Regions from separate parts of the Homo sapiens genome. Here region 2 is linked to region 1. Evidence: promoter capture Hi-C in 16 types of primary human blood cells and fetal thymus (Javierre and others, 2016). All regions are on one chromosome and are shown on one strand. The core of a region is centred on a gene start or on the middle of the fragment in contact, and the rest is flanking DNA. Distances in the headings are between cores, read along the strand shown. Region 1 holds the start of BUD13 (BUD13 spliceosome associated protein). Region 2 overlaps LOC100131626 (a long non-coding RNA gene).

What was found. The method cuts DNA at HindIII sites, captures the fragments that hold promoters and counts their contacts. A CHiCAGO score of 5 or more calls a contact.
Region 2: a contact is called between a fragment that was not itself captured here and the fragment with the promoter of BUD13 in region 1, in 1 of 17 cell types (monocytes). The highest score is 6.3, in monocytes.

Annotation. Positions count from the first base shown.
Region 1 is chr11:116,767,105-116,774,324 of GRCh38, forward strand. It overlaps BUD13 (BUD13 spliceosome associated protein), which reads right to left and starts at 5,883. Exons shown (of 10, transcript NM_032725.4): 1 at 5,718-5,883; 2 at 3,025-3,118. The coding sequence starts at 5,860. It overlaps ZPR1 (ZPR1 zinc finger), which reads right to left. Exons shown (of 14, transcript NM_003904.5): 14 at 6,695-7,220. BUD13-DT (BUD13 divergent transcript) reads left to right here and starts at 6,367. Exons shown (of 2, transcript NR_186226.1): 1 at 6,367-6,407; 2 at 6,806-7,101. RefSeq lists a silencer at 6,022-6,221 and an enhancer at 6,342-6,431. The HindIII fragment of the contact is 6,866 bases long and covers 2,981-7,220 here.
Region 2 is chr11:118,409,487-118,416,706 of GRCh38, forward strand. All of the region lies in intron 3 of LOC100131626 (a long non-coding RNA gene), which reads right to left. It overlaps ATP5MG (ATP synthase membrane subunit g), which reads left to right. Exons shown (of 3, transcript NM_006476.5): 3 at 1-361. Among named protein-coding and RNA genes, the nearest start is that of ATP5MG, 11 kb to the left of the region's middle. The HindIII fragment of the contact is 6,277 bases long and covers 1-6,185 here.

The sequences.
Region 1 (7,220 bases), core at 4,633-7,132:
TTGAACCTGGGAGGCAGAGGCTGCAGTGAGCCAAGATTGAGCCACTGCACTCCAGCGTTGGTGACAGTGTGAGAATATGTCTCAAAAAAAAAAAATAATAAAAACAATTATGAACTAAGTGAAAAGGCAAATGATAAAATACACCCACAACATAAGCCTAATGAACATATAAAAAATGATTCATTTCACTAGTGTTCAAAGAAACTGGGCCAGGCACGGTGGCTCACGTCTGTAATCCCAGCACTTTGGGAGGCCGAGGCAGGCAGATCATGAAGTTAGGAGATCAAGATCATCCTGGCTAACACAGTGAAACTTCATCTCTACTAAAAATACAAAAAATTAGCCAGGCATGGTGGCAGGTGCCTGTAGTCCCAGCTACTCGGGAGGCTGAGGCAGGAGAATGGCGTGAACCCGGGAGGCGGAGCTTGCAGTGATCCGAGATCACGCCACTGCACTCCAGCCTGGGCAACAGAGTGAGACTCCACCAAAAAAAAAAAAAAAAAAAAAAGAAACTGGATACCATTACTCACTTGCTAAATCAGCATAGGTTTGCTATTGGTTTTGTTTTGTTAATAATCCTTCAATATTGGTGGGGCATGTGGCTAACACCTGTAATCCCAACACTTTAGGAGGCCTAGGCAGGAGGATCACTTGAGCCCAGGAGGTCAAGACCAGACTGGGCAACACAGAGACCTCATCTCTACAAAAAATACCCAAAATTAGCCAGGCATGGAGGTGCGCACCTGTGGTACCAGCTACGTGCAGGACTAAGGTAGGAGGATTGCTTGCACCTGGAAGGTAGAGGCTACAATGGGGCATGATCACACCACTGTATTTCAGCCTGGGCAACAGAGCAAGACCCTGTCTCAAAAATAATAATAATAATAATAATAATAATAATAATAATAATAATAGTGCTCTAATATTGACGACGTAGGCAAACTGGCATTCTCATCACCTCTAGTGGGAGTGTAAATTGGTAGCACCTTTTGGAAAGCAACATGGGAATATAACTAAAGCGAACCATACCCTTTGATCCACTCATTTCATTTTATGGGAATAAAGAAATAAACTGATTTCTACAAATGATTTATGTACAACGATGTATGATATTTTATAAGTGGAAACAATCCATGTATCCAGTAACAGAACAGATAAAATATATATATTGAACTACTACATAACCGTTAAAAATCATACACTCAAAGAATATTTTAAGGTCTTACCAGAGTATCCACAACATATTATTTAGCAGAGGAGTAGACTCCAAAACCCTATGTACAATATGATCCCAATTATGTTCAAAAAAATAAAATACAAGCGTGTATAATCTCTAAAGAGAAAAACCTGAAGAGATATGCATCCAAGTATTAGCAGTTATCTTTGGATGGTAACATGCAAGTGTTTATTCTTTTAAAAACTTTAAACTTTTTTTAATTCCCAAATATTCTGTAATAAATATGCATTGCTTTTATAAAATTAAAAAAAAACAACAAACATTGTTAATATTTACTTCTTCTGACCAAAACTAAATTGGCTCCCTAAGATCACTATTTCCCTTCTAATTACTAGCAAGCCCTCTTTTAAATAATCTATTTTAGAATTTTGCTGGGAATTGGCCAGGTGCAGTGGCTCACACATGTAATCCCAGCCCTTCAGGAGGCCGAGGTGGGCGGATCACGAGGTCAGGAGATCAAGACCAACCTGGCTAACATGATGAAACCCTGTCTCTACTAAAAATACAAAAAAAAACACAAAAAATTAGCCGGGCGTGTTGGTGGGCCCCTGTAGTCCCAGCTACTCAGGAGGCTGAGGCAGGAGAATGGTGTGAACCCAGGAGGCAGAGCTTGCAGTGAGCCGAGATCATACCACTACACTCAAGCCTGGGCAACACGGTGAGACTCCGTCTCAAAAAAAAAAAAAAAAAAAGAATTTTGCTGGGAATTAATATTAAATACTCACTGGAATCCATCTTTACCAACTTTAGTGGAATTCAGCCTATCTACAGCTCTCCTTTCCACTTTGTTTCTCAGAAATTCTCAGCAATGGTTTCATGAACCACTGGGAGGTCATTTGCCTATGATTTTGTCCACCTGGCTCTTACTTACCCTTCAAAACTCAGTATTTACATCTTTCAGGATATCTCCCAACAGAATACAAAGTATGCTACCTCCCCGGGCTCTAATGGTACTTGGTACGTATGTGAAACATCCCCAACATTTACCATACTGTTGAAATTTATCTGAAATTCAGTTTTTCATTCTAGGGTATAATCTCTAAAATACAGCTATGTTCTATTAATCTACATATCTCCAGTACTTAGGCAAGAATATACAATTTGAAAGCTTAGTTAAAGCACTGAAAAAAGGAGCAAATAAAAAGTTCCCTATAACTGAACCTCAGCATTGTTTTTAAGAAAGATTCCAACAAAATGAACCACAGCTAAGTCTCATCATTACTCTAACACTGATGTCGAGAAGTCCTCTCTCTGTGATCCATCTCATTTCTAGGCTGATGGACCCTCCATAAAGAGACAAGTTGGTGTATAGGCATCAGCAAAGAAAACTATTTTAAACAGCTCTTTGGAAACTGTCACCTCTTTTCTGTTCTCAACTAACCCCCCTACAAATCTACCCTAAGCTGGAAAAATAAATTTGAGAAGCTTGGCCTGGCACAATGGCTCACGCCTGTAATCCCAGCACTTTGGGAGGCCAAGGTGGGTGGATCACCTGAGGTCATGAGTTCAAGACCAGCCTGGCCAACATGGTGAAACCCCATTTCTACAAAAATTAAAAAAAAAAAATTAGCCAGGCATGATGGCGGGTGCCTGTAATCCCAGCTACTCAGGAGGCTGAGGCAGGAGAATCATCTGAACCCGGGAGGCGGAGGTTGCAGTGAGCCAAGATCATGCCATTGCACTCCAGCTTGGGTGACAGAGCGAGACTCCGTCTCAAAAAAAAAAAAAAAAAGGAAATTGAGAAGCTTGCTTCATTTCAAAATCCTGACAGCCCCAAAGATACATACCACAGGCAAATCTCCATCATCTTCCTCTTCCTCCTTTTCTAGTTTGGTTGTGGAGATAGCTGTCCAGCTCACATCATCATCCACAATCCGCATTCTAAATGAGAATAAGAAGATCAAAAAGAGTCATTCTAGGATACCAGCATAAAAACATTTATCTATTGGTTTTAAAATAAAGTTCAAAATCCTACAGGATCCTGCATGGTCCAGTCTTTGTCTACAAGGTCAACTTCATCTCCTACTGCTACTTCCTTGGTTGAACACCTCCCTGGTCATCCTTTGGTGCTTAGAAAGGAGCCAAGTTCCTATCACATCAGTTTTCACATATGCAGTTCCTTCCCTCTGCCTGATCTACTCTTTTCAATCTTTTTCTTTTTTTTTTTTTTTGAGACGGAGTCTCGCTCTGTTGCCCAGGCTGGAGTGCAGTGGCACGATCTCAGCTCACTGCAAGCTCTGCCTCCCGGGTTCACACCATTCTCCTGCCTCAGCCTCCTGAGTAGCTGGGACTACAGGCGACCACTGCCACGCCTGGCTAATTTTTTGTATTTTTAGTAGAGACGGGGTTTCACCGTGTTAGTCAGGATGGTCTCGATCTCCTGACCTCGTGATCCGCCCGCCTTGGCCTCCCAAAGTGCTGGGATTATAGGCGTGAGCCACCGCGCCCGGCCCTAGTCTTTTTCTTTTTTGAGACAGGGTCTCACACTGCTGCCCAGGCTGGAGTGCAGGGACACCATCATGGCTCCCTGCAGCCTTGACTTCCCGGGGTTAAGTTATTCTCCCTACTCAGTCTCCCAAGTAGCTGGGACTACAGGCATGTGCCACTGTGCCTGACTACTTTTTTGTATTTTTTGTAGAAACAGGGTTTCACCATGTTGCCCAGACTGGTCTCAAACTCCTAGATGCAAGCAATCCACCCGCCTTGGCCTCCCAAAGTGCTAGGAAACTCTTTCTCATTCCAGGAAACTCTTCCTCATTCTTCAGGTCCTAACACAAATTTAACTTCCTTTGGCAAACTTTTCTTGACTGCTTCACCCAATTCCCTCACCATCCCACACTCACTCAAGACTAAGAACCCTTGTTAAAAACTCTTGGAATACTTTCATTGCATTTATCATAAAGAAAATATATCGATTAGTTGTGTAATTAGTTGCTTAAAGCCTGTATTCCCATTAATCTATAAGCTCCACAAGAACAGGGACTATGTTTTTTTTGTTCACAGAGGCATCCTCAACACCCTACAGTAACTGGAATACGAAATATTCAATAAATGTTTGTTACGTGGATAAACTATATAGCTGAGCCCAAATAATAACAATGACTGCCATGATGTGAAGTTATTCAAAAAGCCAGGGTCACTTAATGCAATCCCTCTAATCACAACCACCACTTAATAAAACCATTATTATTATTATTCTCATTTTAAAGATAAGGAAACTGCAGCTCAGTGAGATGAAACACCTTGCCCAAGGGTACACAGCCTATAAAGTGGCACAGCTAGGATTCGAACTCTGACCAGTGCTGCTCCAACACTCAAGCTACTTTCATCACATGGCACTGCCTCCAAAGGATCCACACAAGTCAGCGAGGCAGAAAGACGAAGACAATAATAAGGCAAGCACCAAACCAGAAAAGAACTTGGACTAGTTCTTTAGAACAATGTGACTTCACTGGGTATCTCAGTGCCTTAGGGTTACTGTAACAAAGTACCACAAATTGCGTGGCATAAAACAACAGAAACTCTCTCGCAGTTCTGGAAGCTAGCAATCTGAAATCCAGGTGTCTGCAAGGCCATCCTCCCTGGAAAGTCTCTAGCAGAGAATCTTTCCTTGCCTCTCCCAGCTTCTGGTAGCCCCAAGCATACCTTGGCTTTTGGCAACATAAATCCAATCCAATCTCAGCCTTCATCTAGACATGGTCGTTTTTCCTTTGTTGCTGTGTCTGTATCCATACTTCCCTCTTTTTAAAAGGCAAACAGTCATCTTGGATTTGGCACCCACCTTAATCAAGTATGACCTCATCTTAACTGATTACATCTCCAAAGACCCTATTTCTAAATGTCACATTCTGTGGTTCTGGGTGGAAAACGATTTGGTAGGGCCCACTACACTGGGCCACAAAGTTGTCCCATATGAAAATAATACCCACTTCATGGTAGTGTGGTGAGGCTTAAATAAACTTATATATGTTTAAATTTCTTATAATGGTGCCTGGCAAGAAAAGTATAACTATATAAATGTTAGCTTCTCACGTTAGGACTATTACTAAGAGTAACAGGAGGTGATCAAAGGTCTCTGATTCAGAACCAAGTCCTTGGGATCTGGGAATCCCCACAGGCAGGTACCGGGCCCTAAAGATCCAAGCACAGAGGCTTTGAATCCGCTCCATTATTCTCGAGGCACAATATTCATTCTCTATGGGAGAGGACGGAAGTCTACCAAGGCGGGAAAAGAGTAATCAAAGTTACACCCCGGCTTTAACGCACTGACGCTACTGCTCAGAGGCTCGAGATGTAAGCGGGGCGGCAGAGGCAAGGCGGGGGGCCTCAAGCGATGTGAGTGGGGCCCTGAGCATGAGCAGGGGTCGGCGGAGAAGCCGAGAGACCCGCCAAGAGGGAAGGAACTGCCGGGCGGCCGAGGGCGGAGTTGGGAAGGGGTGGCTAGACGTCGCAGGCCCCGCCCCGGCCGGTACCAACTCACCCCTTGCCGCCGGCCCCGCCAGGCTTCGGCCGCTTTTTGCGACGCTTGCGACCGGACTCAGATCCCCGGTCGACGCCGGCATCTGCCCCGGACAAGTAACGCTTCAGATACTCGGCCTTGGAAAGCGGCGGAGCTGCCGCCATGGCAGCGGCGGGGGCAGAGAGACGGGTCGGCGCTGGGGACAAAATGCCTCAACGCGTAACGGACGCCAGCCACCCGACAGGGCGGGGCCACGGCCGGAAGTGGCGGAGAGTGCTAAGAATCGCGCGGCTGGCAGGTGCGGCCACCGGGACGCGCTCGCAGGCTAGCCAGGGACGTGCGCACCTTCGGGGCGCTCCACAGCCCTGGGACGACGCCACCAGGTTTCTTCTCTTCATTCACTCACCCACCCACCCACCCATCCATCCAACCGCAGCAAGCGCTGTTCTATGAGGCCACAACCTGACCCAAAGGACCCCGCCCCCATCGGCCGCCTAAACTCCAGAGCACGAGCAAGAAAGTGGAGGGCCACGGGCTGCAGCGTAGCCGAGTTTGAATACTGGTTCCATAGCTGGCTAGCTGTACGACCTCGGGCAAGTTATCACAAAACAGGGAGAATCCCGGCACCTAACTCGGAACGGTCACAGGCTGAGATGATATTACTGTGTGAAGTGCGCAGAGCGGTGTTGGGCACATGGTCATCGGAACTATGTTCGTTATTTTTATAAGTATCTTTAAGTGGGGGGAATCTGCTCCACTAGGCTTCCAGGTACCTACCGTCCAAGAAAGGAAGCCAGGAAGTGCAAACCAACATAATTACTATGAAAAACGTAGTTTCTAAGACCTGTGTAACTCTTCTAGTGTTCTATTACAAGTAGCCCCCAGTTATCTCTTGAAGGAAACTGTAAAACAATCTTGCCAATGAGAAGGACGGACCTGGATCATTTTTTAGCATAGTAAAAGAGAGAAACCAGAGAGAATGAATTCTAACACTCAAGTTTTGGGGGGAAAGAAAAGACTTTATTCTTTGCAGGGGGTTTAGAGCTTTACCTGAATTATCTCATTTAACCCTCACAATTCTCAAATCGTTTCATTATCATATTTTACAGATAAGAACTGAAGCGTGGCAAGATTAAGGAAGTTGCTCAACTTCACATAGTCAGAACATGACTCTAGGGAGTAGAGGCTAGCGAAGTGGGGTGCAAGAGGTCATCCAAATTTCTTGAAATACCAGATCTTTTTACCTCATCATATATGTTAGATTGTCAGTTTTATCGTTTTCTTCCCAGCTTTATTATTTGACAAAAAATTATATATATTCAAGGTGTACAATGTGATGACTGGATATAATTATACATTGTGTAATGATTACCAAAATCAAATTAAGTAAAACATCCTTCACTAATTTATGTAGTAGTTCGGTGGGGGGGCACTTAAGCAAATTTGTCTTAGCAAACTTCAAGTAAACAATACAGAATTATTAGCTATAGTCAACATGTTGTACATTAGATTCCCAGAACTTGT
Region 2 (7,220 bases), core at 1,797-4,296, 1.6 Mb after region 1:
GAGATGAATCATGTCAGTAGTTAGAATAACATTTCAACTGTTTTCTTTGCTAAAATCACAGAAAGACCCTATTGACAACATCTATGTCTGTAAAAATGTTAGAGTACTTGTCATCTTGAATATAGCCTCCCCAAGAGAGAACAGGGTGGTATTCTAAGTATGTTTCTTTGTAACATCTTTAGCAGTAGGACAGAGCCATACATGTGAAATCTGATTTTTATGTGTGTTATTCGTTTGTCTGGTTTTACTACCTTTGCAAAAACAAAATACCCCAAAGATATTTAAACAAGGTTATAATTTAGCATCTTCCCTGGATCTAAATAGTATATTATATCCTGAAATAAATGAAATGATTGCTATAGTCTGTCTTCTGGAGCGATTTTATTGGGTATATAGGAGAGATTGATCATTCCTTAGCTTTTCCCCGGGATCTTAGAATCCTTAATTGACTCATTGGTACTTTCCTAAATCCACTGTTATTCTTGCAGCCACAGCAAAACATGCAATACCAACTGATGATAACCAAAAGGTGGTTGCATATTTATTACAAAAGCATTATGGCTCACAATACAGTATTAATCCTTTAATAGTGTTGAACCTTTATCCGGTCAATCCCAAATTTACCCACTGCATTTAGAACACTGCTATTTTAGCCTAATAAACGTCACAGCTTATCTAAGTGATAGGCAAGAAAGTCTCCATAGAGACTGCCACGCTGCTAAAATGTGAAGTAATGCCTAACTTACTCCTGCAATAAACAGGTGGTCAAAACTGAAATGACCTCTTTTCAAAAAGTACTCAAAAAGACTGATATGAGAAAGGCAATCAGTTTCTTTTTCATACAGTGCATGATTATTCAAATTAACCAGAAAAAAACAAGGTAGGAGATCAGCTAGTACTAGTTAAAACCTACAGACACCTAGTTGATTAATGATATGTAATGTGATTGTTTTTAACGCCACGGTCACACCAGAAGGTCCTCAAAATAAACATTTACTACTCACTTCACTGCAACTTCCTCCTGCTTTGCCATACACAACACCTCTGGTCTCCCCTGTGGCTAATAGTGCATGTACGGAATTTTCTTAGGTTAAAATAGCAGTGAGCTCCTTGAAGTGGCCACTTGACTTCACCAGGCTTGTTTCTCTTTTTTTTTTTTTTTTTTTTTGTCCTCATCAACCCCAAATATCTTCTAACAGAACTGTTGAGGCTTTCAATGAATGTGTGCTGCCAAGTGTTTGGCATTGGCAAACTCGGTGTTTATTGTGCACCTCCTAAGTTCTAGGCACAATTAAAATGGCAGAAACATTCATGAACAAGACTGTTACCTGTTTCACAGAGTTTGATCTGGTAAGACAGGTAATTAGGCATGCAATTACTGTAATAAGATGTGAGAAGTACTATAATGAGGGAAGGGGAAGGTATACTTGAAAGGCTAACCCAGGGCAGGGTGCAGTGGCTCACACCTGTAATCCCAGCACTTTGGGAGGCCAAGGCGGGCAGATCATGAGGTCAGGAGTTTGAGACCAGCCTGGCCAATATAGTGAAACCCTGTCTCTACTAAAAACACAAAAATTAGCCAGGCGTGGTGGCACACACCTGTAGTCCCAGCTACTCGGGAGGCTGAGGCAGTAGAATCACTTGAACCTGGGAGGTGGAGGTTGCAGTGAGCCGAGATCACACCACTGCACTCCAGCCTGGGCGACAGAGGGAGACTCTGTCTCAAAAAAAAAAAAAAGAAAAAAGAAAAGCTAACCCAGACGAGAAGGACGTTCAAGGGAGGTTGTCAGAGAAAATAGTAGCTATATAAACAAGGAAAGTACATTAGCCAAGAAGAATGGAGCAAGGTATGCTGGCCAAGTGAAACAACCTGTGCAAAAGCTACTGTCAGAAAAAGTGTAGTACATTGAGGGTCTGAGAGTGTAAGTGTGGCCAAATTGCCAGGCAGAGGAGAGCACTGAGAGGTAAAGCCAGAGATGGTGGGGACCAGATTGTATTTTATGCCTGTTAAGGCTTGGACTTCTTTAAGGACATTGAATAGAAAGCCATTGAAAGATTTTGACAAGGCACAGTCCTGCCCTGAAGTAACTTGGGTAGTCTAACATCAGCAGGTAATTTCAATTCCATGTAACAAAAGCCAGAATAGAAACCTGCAAACTTGCATAGGGTTCATATAACAGTGCATGTGGTCCTACAATTTTCTCAGTATGTAAAAGTAGAAGTACTCATTTAGTAGTAGGCATCACGAGGAGAGAGAACATAATGGTTAAGTCAAAGCCAGTTATGCAAATATTTGTCACTGTGGTCCAAAGGTTTATTCCTAAGGAAACTGCTATCTATATATAAGTAAATGAGGCTTTTTGTTGAGGCTTTCATCATTTCAAAACTAATGTGGCCAAGTGCGGTGGCTCACGCCTATAATCCCAGCACTTTGGGAGGCCGAGGTGGGCGGATCACGAGGTCAAGAGATCAAGACCATCCTGGCCAACATGGTGAAACCCCATCTCTAATAAGAATACAAAAATTAGCTGGGCGTGGTGGCACATGCCTGTAGTCCCAGCTACTTGGGAGGCTGAGGCAGGAGAATCGCTTGAATCCAGGAGGCAGAGGTTGCAGTGAGCCGAGATGGCACCACTGCACTCCAGCCTGGCACAGAGCGAGACTCCGTCTCAAAAAAAAAAAAAAGCTAATGTGAGGCCGGGTGCGGTGGCTCACACCTGTAATCCCAGCACTTTGAGAGGCCAAGGCTGGCGGATCACCTGAGGTCAGGAGTTGGAGACCAGCCTGACCAACATAGTGAAACCCCATCTCTTCTAAAAATACAAAATTAGTCGGGCGTCGTGGCACATGCCTGTAATCCCAGCTACTTGGGAAGCTGAGGCAGGAGAATCTCTTGAACCTGGGAGGCGGAGGTTGCAGTGAGCCAAGATCATGCCATTGCACTCCAGCCTGGGCAACAAGAGCGAAACTTGGTCTCAAAAAAAAAAAAAAAAAAAAAAACTAATGTGAAACTGTCCACATTGCATATTCCATCCTTTTTTTTTTTTTTTTTTGAGACGGAGTCTCACTCTGTCGCCAGGCTGGAGTGCAGTGGTGCCATCTCGGCTCACTGTAACCTCTACCTCCTGGGTTCAAGAGATTCTCTTGCCTCAGCCTCCCAAGTAGCTGGGACTACAGGCGCGCACCAGCATGTCCAGCTCATTTTTTGTATTTTTAGTAGAGTCAGGGTTTCACCATGTTGGCCAGGATGGTCTCGATCTCTTGACCTCGTGATCTGCCCGCCTCAGCCTCCCGAAGTGCTGGAATTACAGGAGTGAGCCACCACGCCCGGCCTCATCCTTTGTTTTATACATCTCAGCATTGTTCTTAGATTAACAGTTTCTCCTCTTTTCCATTCATCTCTTACATACCTAAGTATTCTACCCTGATTTCTAAGGATAGCTCAATACTTTCTTTTTAAATATTTCATATTTGTATAACACTTTACCTTTTCAAAGCACTTGCACCAACTATCTCATTTAGCCCTCAACTTTCCTCTGAAGCACGTGCCATAAATGATATACCATTTAACAAGAGAGGAACTGAGCAGAAAACATAAAACAATTTGGCTAGGATCCCAAGAGCAATAAGTGGTGGCAGCATAAGCTGGGCCCAGGTCATGATCCTGTGTTGTAGTCTGTGCCCTGACTCTACCTGTGACCAGCTTGTGGATCCTGCTTTGTATTTCCACAGTTCCATTCTGTATTATATATTCTTGGTCCTGCTTTGCCCTACTATTAAGTTATTTAAGATTTCTTGTCTCATTAGATATCAACCTCCCTAATCTTATGTAAAGTGATAGGTAGTTTAGTAGGACTTACTATTTCCTAATTAGTGTGGTTTTTGTTTCTACTAGGACATAAGATTGTGATCACCCTTGTGATGAATTCAGTAACAGTTCCACCAGAGGTAATCCCTTAGCAGGGAACTTACACTAGACCTGTTTACCAAACAAAAGGCCCTGATATAATAAAATACTAACATGCAAAGCCCTTGGCAATCTCCCTTCTGCCTCATCTTAATCTCACTTAGCTGCCAACCATTGTTTCAGCCACCATTTCTAACCAATCCCCATAAAACCTAGCTTTAAATATCATGTTATTAGAGTGTGTATCCACTGTCCCTGATTGTTGCAATTTTCCACTAATCAGTTCATTCCCCTTTCTTTCTTTTTGTCTTTTGAGACAGGGTCTCGCTCTGTCGCCTGGGCTGGAGTATAGTGGCATGATCACAGCTTACTGCAGTCTCAACCTCCCAGGCTCAATCAAGATCCTCCCATCTCAGCTTCCCAAATAGCTGGAACTACAGGCGCATGCCACCACACACGGCTATTTTTTTGTAGAGACAGGGTAGCCACATTGCCCAAGCTGGTCTCAAACTCCTAGGCTGAAAGAATCCCCCACCTTGGCCTCCCAAAGTGCTGGGATTACAAGCGTGAGCCACCGCAGCTGGTCCCCTTTATTTCTTGCCAATTTTGTGTCCTGGCTCACTGTCACTTTATAACACTACTTCTATCTTAATTCTTGACAATTGCAATTTCAACATACACATGGGTCAGTAGTTTCCAAAGTACAGTCCCTGGACCACAGCAGCATCAGCATCACCAGGGAATTTAGAAATGAAAATTACCAGGCTCTACCCCAGAAACTAGGAGTGAGATCTTGCAATCTGTATTTTTTTTGTTGTGTTGTTTTGCATTTTTTTAGAGATGGTCTCACTGTGTTACCTGGACTGGTCTCAAACCCCTGAGCTCAAGCAATCTTCTTCCCTCAGCCTCCCAAGTAGCTAGGACTACAGGCATACGTCATTGCACCTAGCACAATCTGTGTTTTAATTATCTTTCCATATATAAGTCTAATGCATGCTAAAGTTTGAGAACTATTAACATAAATGATCCTTCAACCAACCTGGCCTTTTGATTCCCTAAAAACTTAACAGTTAATACCTTTCACCTTCCTTAAATACTGATTCCCATCTTTTTACCAAAAACATCAACCATCTTAGTTTCAATTTCATGCATCCCTCTCTCTGACCACCTATGACCTTCCTAGCCCATTCTGTCAAATAACTACACAAATTCAGAGTTTTCATGACCATCAATAAATTGATCCTACCATCTCCCTCACCCCCTTGATTTCAGCTTTTCTCTCCTGTTACAACTTAGGTTCCATGATCAATCATAAGCATTCTCTTGAATACACCTTCAACTTCCTTGCCTCTCACTCACTTCGTTGTACTCACTTACCAAAACCACCTCCTTGGCTTAATTCAGCTGTCTACCTGCTCTGCACCTATGCAGCCAAATGAAGTTGGAGAAAACAAAGTAACTAGTCTGGCCAGGTGCAGTGGCTCACGCCTGTAATCCCAACACTTTGGGTGGATCCCTTGAGGCCAGGAGTTTGAGACCAGCCTGGCCAACATGGTGAAACCCGCTCTCTACTAAAAATACAAAATTTAGCTGAGCATGGTGGCACGCACCTGTAGTCCCAGCTACTTGGGAGGCTGAGGCATAAGAATCGCTTGAACCTGGGAGGCAGAGGTTGCAATTAGCCGAGATTGCACCACTACACTCCTTCCTGTTTTGGCGACACAGCGAGACTCTGTCTCAAAAAAAAAAAAAAAAAAAGTAGTCTCACTTTATATTCATGATGGTCAGAACCTTAAGAGAGCACTTAATACTACCAGCCAATCATATTATGTTTCTTCAGACCGCAATTACATCCTTCAACAGACGACCTTACTTCCTACTTGACTGAGAAAATTTAAGCAATTGGAGAACTTCCAGTTACTCCCACAACATCATTATCTCATCTTACCATATCTCCACCTATATATATACACCACCTTGCCTGTACTATATGGTTCGTATCACATGCTGCAAGCACACAGAAGTCACTCAATGCAAATGTGATGAATAAAGTGAATGTATCCATTAATTAATCTATATAAATGTTTTCCCCTCTGCCTTCATTCCTGGCACTTTCTACCTAGCACATCCACTTTCAAAACCACTTCATCACCTTTTCAGAGAAGTTTTTTTCTGATTTTCCCGAATTGCTTCCCTTTACCCTCCTGTCGATGCTTCTTGTAGCACACATCATTGCACTCTAATGCTATATTTACATTTATTTCCTTACTAAACTGTAAGCTTCTTAAGGGAGATACTGTATCTAATACACTGTTGTAATACTATCCCATCATGTAATCTGGCTTCTGTGTTTTTGGGTTTGTTGAAAACAGTGAAACAGCAGACTCATCCTACTGTGTTTGGTACTGGGTTGATAAACAGCAGAGTTTAGTGGCAATTTGCCACAGAGGGAGATGCAGGCCTGGAGGACTTACTTCCTGAAGGCCTGCAGGCTGAGACTGCTACAGAGCTGATGCCAGCTGAGTCACTCTTGCATCTCAACCTCCAACTCTGAAACAGAGATGTGGATCTCTGATTAGCCTTCTCTACTGTGCTAGCTAATGCAAAGCTACCTTTGCATATGTAAGGTCTAGCAGGGGAGAACCAGGAGGTAGGCAGCAGAAGATCCTTTATAAAAGACCAAGCCTGAAATCTGAAAATCCCTGAAATTCCTTAGAAATTGATCATCTTAACTCTTTCTTTGCCAAGCCCGCATTTCCTGATTTATATCCTTGTTACAGCTGAAAGAAGCTCATCATGTAAAGGTTTATAGCACCACCATTTTCCTCAGAGGATTTTACATATGCAACCTATGGATGGATTTTTATAAGAACTATACCTTGGACTTCTTGCATGAAGTTAGGAAGGTTATCTTCAGAGGCTCCAAGTTTTAATGCATTCCAGTGTTGTCAAATCCAAAAGCAATTAAATACTGTTGTGTGGTTTTGAATTATAGCCTGCTTGTTAAAATAGCTACTGTTTCCCCTAAGGACAGCCTGCATTTTTACCTGATGTCATCTGACTCTGGGTCTCAAGAGAGTGGGGAACCTAATAGAACAACTGAATAAATGTAGTTCTAAGACAGTGAATTATAAGGTGATGGTGGAAGAGTGGTTACCAATTTTAGTGACCTCCAGGTAGAACAATGGAAAGGAAGTCATGTAAGCCCCAGATTGGGGAAAAAATGAAAGTAATAATGACCAAGTAAACATTAAGTCAGGGGTGATGTGGAAGACAGTGTGGCGATTCCTCAAAGACCTAGAACCAGAAATAC